Regions from separate parts of the Homo sapiens genome. Here region 1 is linked to region 2. The links are contacts of gene promoters, found by promoter capture Hi-C in human tissues and cell types (Jung and others, 2019). All regions are on one chromosome and are shown on one strand. The core of a region is centred on a gene start or on the middle of the fragment in contact, and the rest is flanking DNA. Distances in the headings are between cores, read along the strand shown.

What was found. The method cuts DNA at HindIII sites, captures the fragments that hold promoters and counts their contacts. A contact is called where the count stands out against the background at its distance.
Region 1: a fragment that was not itself captured here is called in contact with the fragment with the promoter of ARC in region 2 in 2 of the 25 tissues and cell types used here (IMR-90 fibroblasts and dorsolateral prefrontal cortex).

The regions. Positions count from the first base shown.
Region 1 is chr8:142,732,774-142,736,623 of GRCh38, forward strand. THEM6 (thioesterase superfamily member 6) reads left to right here. Exons shown (of 2, transcript NM_016647.3): 2 at 2,553-3,850. The coding sequence ends at 2,666. Among named protein-coding and RNA genes, the nearest start is that of THEM6, 7.5 kb to the left of the region's middle. The HindIII fragment of the contact is 7,269 bases long and covers 1-3,850 here.
Region 2 is chr8:142,612,357-142,616,197 of GRCh38, forward strand. ARC (activity regulated cytoskeleton associated protein) reads right to left here and starts at 2,123. Exons shown (of 3, transcript NM_015193.5): 1 at 128-2,123. The coding sequence starts at 1,915. The coding sequence ends at 725. RefSeq lists an enhancer at 1,316-2,214 and a silencer at 2,230-2,439. The HindIII fragment of the contact is 38,144 bases long and covers 1-3,841 here.

The DNA of each region.
Region 1 (3,850 bases), core at 242-2,741, 120 kb after region 2:
CAATTTCTCATCCCTGAGGCCACTGCAGTGAGGCAGAGGAGCGTGCTCCCTCATGAGAGAGGAACAGAGACCGCCCCCGCAGGAGAATGTAGCCCTGTACGGATTGCCACCAAATTGTTTGAAATGCTTGTTCCCCGGTGCCGTAAAGAAACAGCAGTTGAACATAAATTTAATTTACTCAGCAAGGACATTTTTACTTCCTGCAGAAAGGACACACTTGCCATCAGCTTTGCCACAAGAGTTCACCCAACAAAGGAAACAGGGTCATTTATAACCTGACGCGTCCACCCTATTGCCGTCTCTGGTTTCCATTGACTGGGATGGGACCTCACATTCTGTATCTGTCCCGATTGGCTAGCAACGTACAACTTTTTAAAAGAGGCAAAGGCAGAGGAGAACAAAGGAAGGAAGTAATTTGTGGAATGCTGAGAAAGGTAAAAACACCTTCAAATAAGGAAGAGGAACAGGCTATGACCTAATGCCCGCTTGGACCAGTATAAGCATGCCAGGGCAAATATTTAGGCTAAATTGTGGGAGCTAAGAACCTAAAGTAGTACATTGCTTTCTTTATTACTGCTAGCAGATATTTAATAATGTTAGCACAGGTCTTTGAATAAATTTTGCTTCTAAGAGAAGTTACTATTTATTCCTAATTAGATCGGTAGGAAAGTCTTTGAAGAGGAACCTCTACTTTACAACTAAACATCTAGAGGCTCGGAATGCCTCTTTCTGGGGATGCAGCCCAGCAGGCCCCAGCCTCATTTCCCAGCCCTCACTCAAAATGGAGTCGCTCTGGTTCCAGCGCCTCTGACACTGAGAGGTCATGTCAGGAATGGGGAAACTGAGGCTCAGAGGAGCTATGGCACTGCACAAAGCTACACGGCTCCCTGGTCTTCTGTTTCTGTTGAGTCATGTGAACCAAAAAGTATCGGAGATATGTCTCAGTCAATTTAGAAAGTTTACTTTGCCAAGGATAAGGACTCACCAGTCCTGACAACATGTGCCCAAGGTGGTCGGGGCACAGCTTGCTTTTATACATCTCAGGGAGGCACAATACATCTGTCAGTACATGTAAGATTCACATTGATGCCATCTGGAAGGGGGGCTTTCAGGTCATGGTAGATGTAAAAGTTTTCTGATTGGCAGTTGGTTGAAAGAGCTATTATCAGTAGAAAGGCATGTCTGGGTTAAGATACTGGTTGTGGAGACCTAGGTTTTATTATGCAGATGAAGCCTCCAGGCTGCAGGCTTCAGAGGGAATAGATCATAAATGTTTCTTGTCGGACTTAAGGTCTGTGTTGTTAATGCTGGAGGGCATAACAGGCCTGTCCCACACCCTCTTCTATCATGGCCTGGGCTAGTCTTTCTGGTTAAATGTGGAGGGCCCTGGCCTATTGGAGGAAGTTCATTCAGATGGTTGGGGGTACCTTCCGATGTTATTTTTGGTTTACAGTCAGGAACCCCCTAAAAGGCCTAGATCTCTCTCTGTCCCCAGGTGCTGGACTCTATGTCTTTCATGCATCTAGAGTCCAGAGGCAAAGGCCACCAAGGCTGAGAGCCGGGCACGGAGGCCGAGGAGATGGGGAGCCAGGGTTGCTTTTCTGGGAAAGAGGGAGTGATAAAATCAGGCATGGGCTGGTTGGTGAGGTCCCTGTGGGAGGTGAAGGCTGGGACCCAGAACAGCAGAGACTCTGTCGATGATGTGGAAAGACCGCGGCTGCAGTTTGGGCAGGCTGAGCCAGGGTTGGGTCTTGCATGTTGAGAGGCTGGCCTGCGGTGATGTGGCCAAAGAGGAAGAGCTGGGCTGGGGTGAGTGTTGGTCACATGGTTGAAACTAGGTGGGGAGGGGAGTGGTCCAGGGGAGAGTCCAGGCCCAGCTCTGCTGGGACTTGCCATGGGGGTCACGACTCATCTGCAGGGAAGGTCTGGGCTTTATCTCTGAGCACCTCTGTGTGCTGCTCACCCTGAAGTGGGGGTGGGCCTGTGCCTGGCCTGTCCCCTCATCCTGGGAGCTCCCAATGCCCATCTGCAAGGCTGTGGACCCCTCAGGAGTGGCCTGGAGCCTGGCTCCCATTGCCACATGGTGGCTGTGTGTGTGGAGAGGGTTGATAGTGGAGTGGTCAGGCCCAGGCTGCCCTGGGGGATGAAGTGCCATCCTCTGGGTGCCCTGGAGAAAGAAGAGAACTCAGTGAGCCCTGTCTGGTACTTTCCTGGAGGAGGGCTCCCATGCTGGCCCTCCACCCCTCTGTCCCCTGTCACCCTGAGGCCTCTGGATTTCCTCTCTGCCCTTCCCAACCTGCCAACTTCACGGGTTTCTGGCTGGGTTCTGGGGATGGCCCCTAGGGGAGACGGGCCAGGCACAAGCGGGGCTGTGTCAAGGTGGGTATGCAGGGGTAGCACAAGTGTGCAGAGCCTGGGGAGGCATGGGCAAAGCATGGCAGGCGGCGGGGCAGGGGATCTTGGAAGGTCACGGGCTGGGGAGCAGTGTGGGCAGCGGCCCAGAGGTGGGAAGGCCGTAGCTTAGCTGGGTGTCCCCTTTCTGTCCTCTGCAGGTGGAGCCCCCTGAGCTGCCCGCTGATCTGCAGCACTGGATCTCCTACAACGAGGCCAGCAGCCAGCTGCTCCGCATGGAGAGTGGGCTCAGTGATGTCACCAAGGACCAGTGACCGCCACCTTCACACCGTCTGCCCTGGCCACCATCCTGGGCCTGGGGGCTGCCCACAGATGGGCAGTCTCAGCCATACTCTGTTCCAGCTGGAGTAGCCTCCTGACCAGCCTGGCCCACCCTGCTCCACCCACTGGGCCCCCCCAGTTATTGATACCCCTCTGTGCTGGGCTCCACGCTAGGCAGAAGGAGGAGTGGCATTGGCATCCTGACCCAGCTCTGCCCTCAAGGTGGGGATGGATGGGCAAAGGAGAGTCCTGCCTGGCCCTACGATGAGGCCACTCATGTGGGCCTAGGTAGGGGAGGATGGTGCCTGGAGCAGAGGGACCCACAAGTGCCTCCCGAGCCTAGATCCTGGCTCGGACCACTGCAAGGGCCGAGGCAGGGCCAGACCAGAGCATCCTGGGTACAGGCCTGGGCTCTCCAGGGCCTGGGCCTGATTCAGGTGCAGTGGGCACTCCTGAAGGGTCAGAGCGGCATCTGCCAGGCAGCCCCTCTGGCTTCCGCTGAGGTGGTTGCAGGCCTGGGGCAGAGCCTGGGTGGTCAGAGGCCGGGGCTAGAGGCAGATGGAAGGGAGGCATTTGCTGACAGAGGACGGGGCACCCGGGCTCCCCACTGCAGTCGGCCTTGCCTCCTCCTCCTCCTCTACCTCCAGTCAGGCTGGACGGGAGGGTAGCCTTGTGGCTGAGAGGGGTCAGACTAGGTGGCACAGGGGCTCCTGGAAAGACAGCAGGCTTCCTGCTGGGCGTTCCCTTGTTGGAGGGAATAGAGTGGGGGTGGGACTCTGCAGGGGTGTCCTTGTCCACTCGCACCCCTCGCCGCCCACCAGGGCCATGCTCTGTGACTTGGGCTGATCCCCACCCTTTCTGGGCCTACAGCACCACAGGCCGCTGTACCCCCTTAGAGCTGCCCCTCTCTGGCCTGGCCGGCAGGCGTCTTCTTAACTCCTCTGTCCTCTATATTCAGCATGTTCCTTGTCAGCTGCTGGGCCGGCCCTGCCTTGCGCTAGCAGAGCCTCTCCTGGCAGCTTCTCAGGTCTCCCTAATGGAGACACCAGGCTACTAGGACACTGGCTGGGGCCACCCCCTCCTGCCTAATGCCTCACCTTACAGCTGGGGAAACTGAGGCCTGGAATGGCCCAGAGTCACCAAGGCAAAGTTGGGGCTGGTCCCAGCCTGAGGCTCC
Region 2 (3,841 bases), core at 873-3,372:
CCACCCCATCCCTTTGGCTAACTTGCTGGGGGCCCAAGCCTCAGTGGGCTCTCCTAGAAAACAGCCTCCGGATCCCGCCAGCTCTCAGATGCCCCACAGCCGGTACTGCCTTGGGGCAGGGGCTCACCTGAGGGGCCAGGAAGCACCGGGACATCAGGTCTGCTCTGCTGCGTGTGCGACTTCTACTCTCCCCTGGGAGGAGGGGGCCGCGCTGCCCGAGGCTGGCCAGCTGCCCTGGGAGGCAGGGAGGGCGTCAGCTGGCTCTGCGGATGCCGGGAGAGGGCGGCGGCGCCGGAAGTCGAGGCTCCCTCAGCATTGGCTCTGCCCTAGCTTCTGCTCTGGGTGTCCCATGAGCTTGGTGGCCGCTGGCCCCTGCCATCCGGACACTTGGTTTTCTGGATGTCCAGAGGGCCTGGGTGTTGTAGCAGAATGAGGAAGCTGGGGTGTTCTGTGATGGCCTGAGAGTGTGGAGGGTGGGGTCCAGGCCGGAAAGACAGACGGAGGGAGGGTGATGGGTGGAGCCCTGCAGGGGGGAGGGCTCTTTGCCGCTGGGTGCGGTGCTCACATCTGGATGACACGAGTGTGTGCGAGTCCGCCCGGAGCTCGAGGGGGCACCCAGCTGGACCAGGGCTTCCCCTGCAGGAGTCAGCCCCAGCTCAAAAGTCCTGGTGGGCAAAGCCACAGGCTGGATGTAGTGGGCAGGCTGGGGGCTCCGGGATGCCCTCTACTCGGGCTGGGTCCGGTCACTGGCCACGGACTCGCTGTTGGGGGCGGGCGTGAGGGTCTCCGCCTCATCCTCCACCGGGAGGTGGGGGCCGGCCGGCTCGGCCGCCTGCTCCAGGTCATCCTGCACCTCCATGCCCCTCTGGATGAGCTGCTCCAGGGTCTTGGGCAGGGGGTGGCGCAGGAAACGCTTGAGCTTGGGCTGCAGGGTGCCCACCACGTACTGGATGATCTCCTCCTCGTCCGCGTCCACGTAGAGCGTCTGGTACAGGTCCCGCTTGCGCCACAGGAACTGGTCCAGCGGCTCGCCCTGCTTCTGCGGCAGGTCCAGCTCGCGCTGGATGGCCTCTCGGGACAGCGTGCCCTCGCTGTACTGCAGGAACTCCTTCTTGAACTCCACCCAGTTCTTCACGGAGCCCTGCTTGAACTCCCACCACTTCTTGGCCGGCCCGTTCATGTGATTCTGGATCTGGGACAGCCAGTACTCCTCAGAGCCGCCCACCTGCCGCAAGTACTCCTCTAGGTGGCTCAGGAACTCTCGAGGGTCCTCGAAGATCTGCGTGTCCACGCCGGGGCTGGGCTGCCCGTCCTCGCCGGGGACCCACGGCTGGTACTGCTGGGCCTCGGCGGGCTCCTGCCCGGGCAGCTCGCCAGCGGCTGGGGGCGGGGTGATGGCGTAGGGGCTGACGGTGTAGTCGTAGCCGTCTGCCTCGTGGCAGTAGCTCTCGGGACCCCCCACGCCCACGGAAACGGTGTGGCGGGCTGACTCGCTGCCCACCGGGTACTTGCCGCCCGTGGACTCCAGGCGGTCGGCCCAGCGCTCCAGGCGGTAGAACACCTCGCGCCACACGTGCATCTCGCGCTTGACCCAGCGCTCCAGGTTGGCGATGGTCTCCTGGCAGCGGCACAGGCAGGCCTTGATGGACTTCTTCCAGCGCTGCGAGTCGCTCGTGGGCACGTAGCCGTCCAGGTTGCTCTCCAGCTTCCCGACCGACCGGTGCAGCCCCTTCAGCTCGCGCTCCACCTGCTTGGACACCTCGGCCAGCAGGTGCCGGTGCGTCCGCCGCACGTGCTCCAGCATCTCGGCCCGGCACTTCCCGATCTGCAGGATCACGTTGGGCTTGGCCACCTGCCCGCCCCGCGGCCCGGGGTAGGCGTGGAGCCCGCCGCTGGTCCGGTGGTCCAGCTCCATCTGTGCGCAGGTGCTCCGGCAGGCGGCAAACTCCTCGGGGCGGACAGAGGGTGGTCCGGCGCTGGGGTCCGGCGGCCTGGGTCCCGTGCGGAGCTGCGGGGAGCGCCTGTCTGTCGCTGCGGGCCGGCGGCGGGGCCGGCGGAGCACGCCCGGGGAGGCAGGTCCGGCTCGGCTGCTGCGGAGGGAGGACGCCGCGCCCGAGCTCTGCGCTGAGTCCTGGCCGCCGGCTCTTTATGCAGCCAGCGAGGCCCGTGGGCGGCCGGCTCGCCGAGCCCGGTTTCTCATTGGCCCAGCCGCAGGCTCCCCGCCAGCGCCCCGCCCGCGCCCCTGCAGGCCCCGCCCTGCGCCCACTCGGCTCCCGGGCGGCAAGGGACGGGAGGTCCCACCCCCTGCACACATGGCGGGGCCAGGATGACTAATCCCTCCGCTCCGTACCTCCCACCCCGGACGGCGGGGCTCATTCAGCCTGCGGGGACCGAGGGACTGAGCCGGGCACTGGGCGCCCCTCCCACGCCCCCTCCCGGGCGCTGGGCGGGCTGTCATCTGCTGCCTCCCAGGGTCCCAAGGTGGCCTTCCTCCTCTCCACTCGCCTCTCTCTTTGCGGGGCTGGAGGGGGCTGGCGCTGGCCACTGCTCTCCTGGGTCCTCACTGCCCCTGACCCCGCCCACCCAGCTCTGCAGGATGTGCAGCTGAGCCCGGGAAGGACCCTCACCATCAGCCTCTGTGCCCAGGGGCTCAGCAAGTCTCCATGTGAGCTCCCAGATGTGGCTTTGAGCTCCCACTCACTCCTGCCCGGGTCCTGAGTCCAGGTCTTGGGCTCTGTGTGAGGGACGCACAGCCAGGCAGAGGCTCGCTCTGCCTGGCCCTGGCGTTGGTGTGCATGGGTGACAGGGGCCCACGTGGCAGTGACTGGACAGGGCTGCCCCATGCCCCCATACGCAGGTCTCTGGTGAGGCCCAATACTTTTCTGTGTTTCCAGGGAAATCTGGCAGCTGCTACCTGGGGGGCTGGGGTTTGGAGGACATGGAGGGGACATTTAGCCCCCAGTGAAGGGAATTGGGCCCTGAAGACCCTGGCTATATCAAGAACCTGGCCAGAGGCTCCAAGACTTCTAAGGGGATGGAAGAGGGGAGGAGAGAGGGAGACAGGGAGGGAGGTGGAAGGAGGGAAAGGAGAAGGGGAGGGAGGAGAGGCGAGGAGGGAGAGGGAGGGGGGCCGGTGCTGGCAGCACAGTGCCATCAGGAGAGGCAGAGGGAAGCCAAGCACCATATAAGGAGCGGGGCTCCGGAAGCCGAGACTCCCTCGGGAGGGAGGTCCCTTCTGCCTCCCTGGCAACCTGGCGGGGGTAGGGACGCCCTTCCTGAGTTACTCCAGTGCTGGCTGGATAGGCATGGGTCTCAGGTCCTCTGATGTTACCCAGGCAGGGGTGACACACACCATTCCCCACAGCCAGAGGGCCATGAGGACATCATCGCTGACAATCAAGACATCTTGTTCCTGCTGCCAGCTGCCCTTTCCCTCTCTCAGACACACACATGCTGCACACTCACACCCCCACATACACACTCATAGCCCCCACTCTAACCCCACCCCACACACTCATGCCCTCACTCACAGCCCCCACACACACTCATACCCCCCACTCATAGCTCCCACATACACACTCATACCCCCCACTCATAGCTCCCACATACACACTCATACCCCCCACTCACAGCCCTCAGCTCCCCCCAGCATCCCCTGTCTTATTCAGGCACTCAAGGGCACACAGGTGCCCACTTGCTGGAATCCCCCCTCCCTGCCAACCCTCTGAGCCCCCCCCCAACCGGCTCTCCCGGGGAGCCCTCTCCCAGCCTCAGAGCCAGTCTGTCTCCTCCTTCCTTCCGCCCCTGGGGGGGAATGTCTTTCTGGCAAAAAAACTCCCCA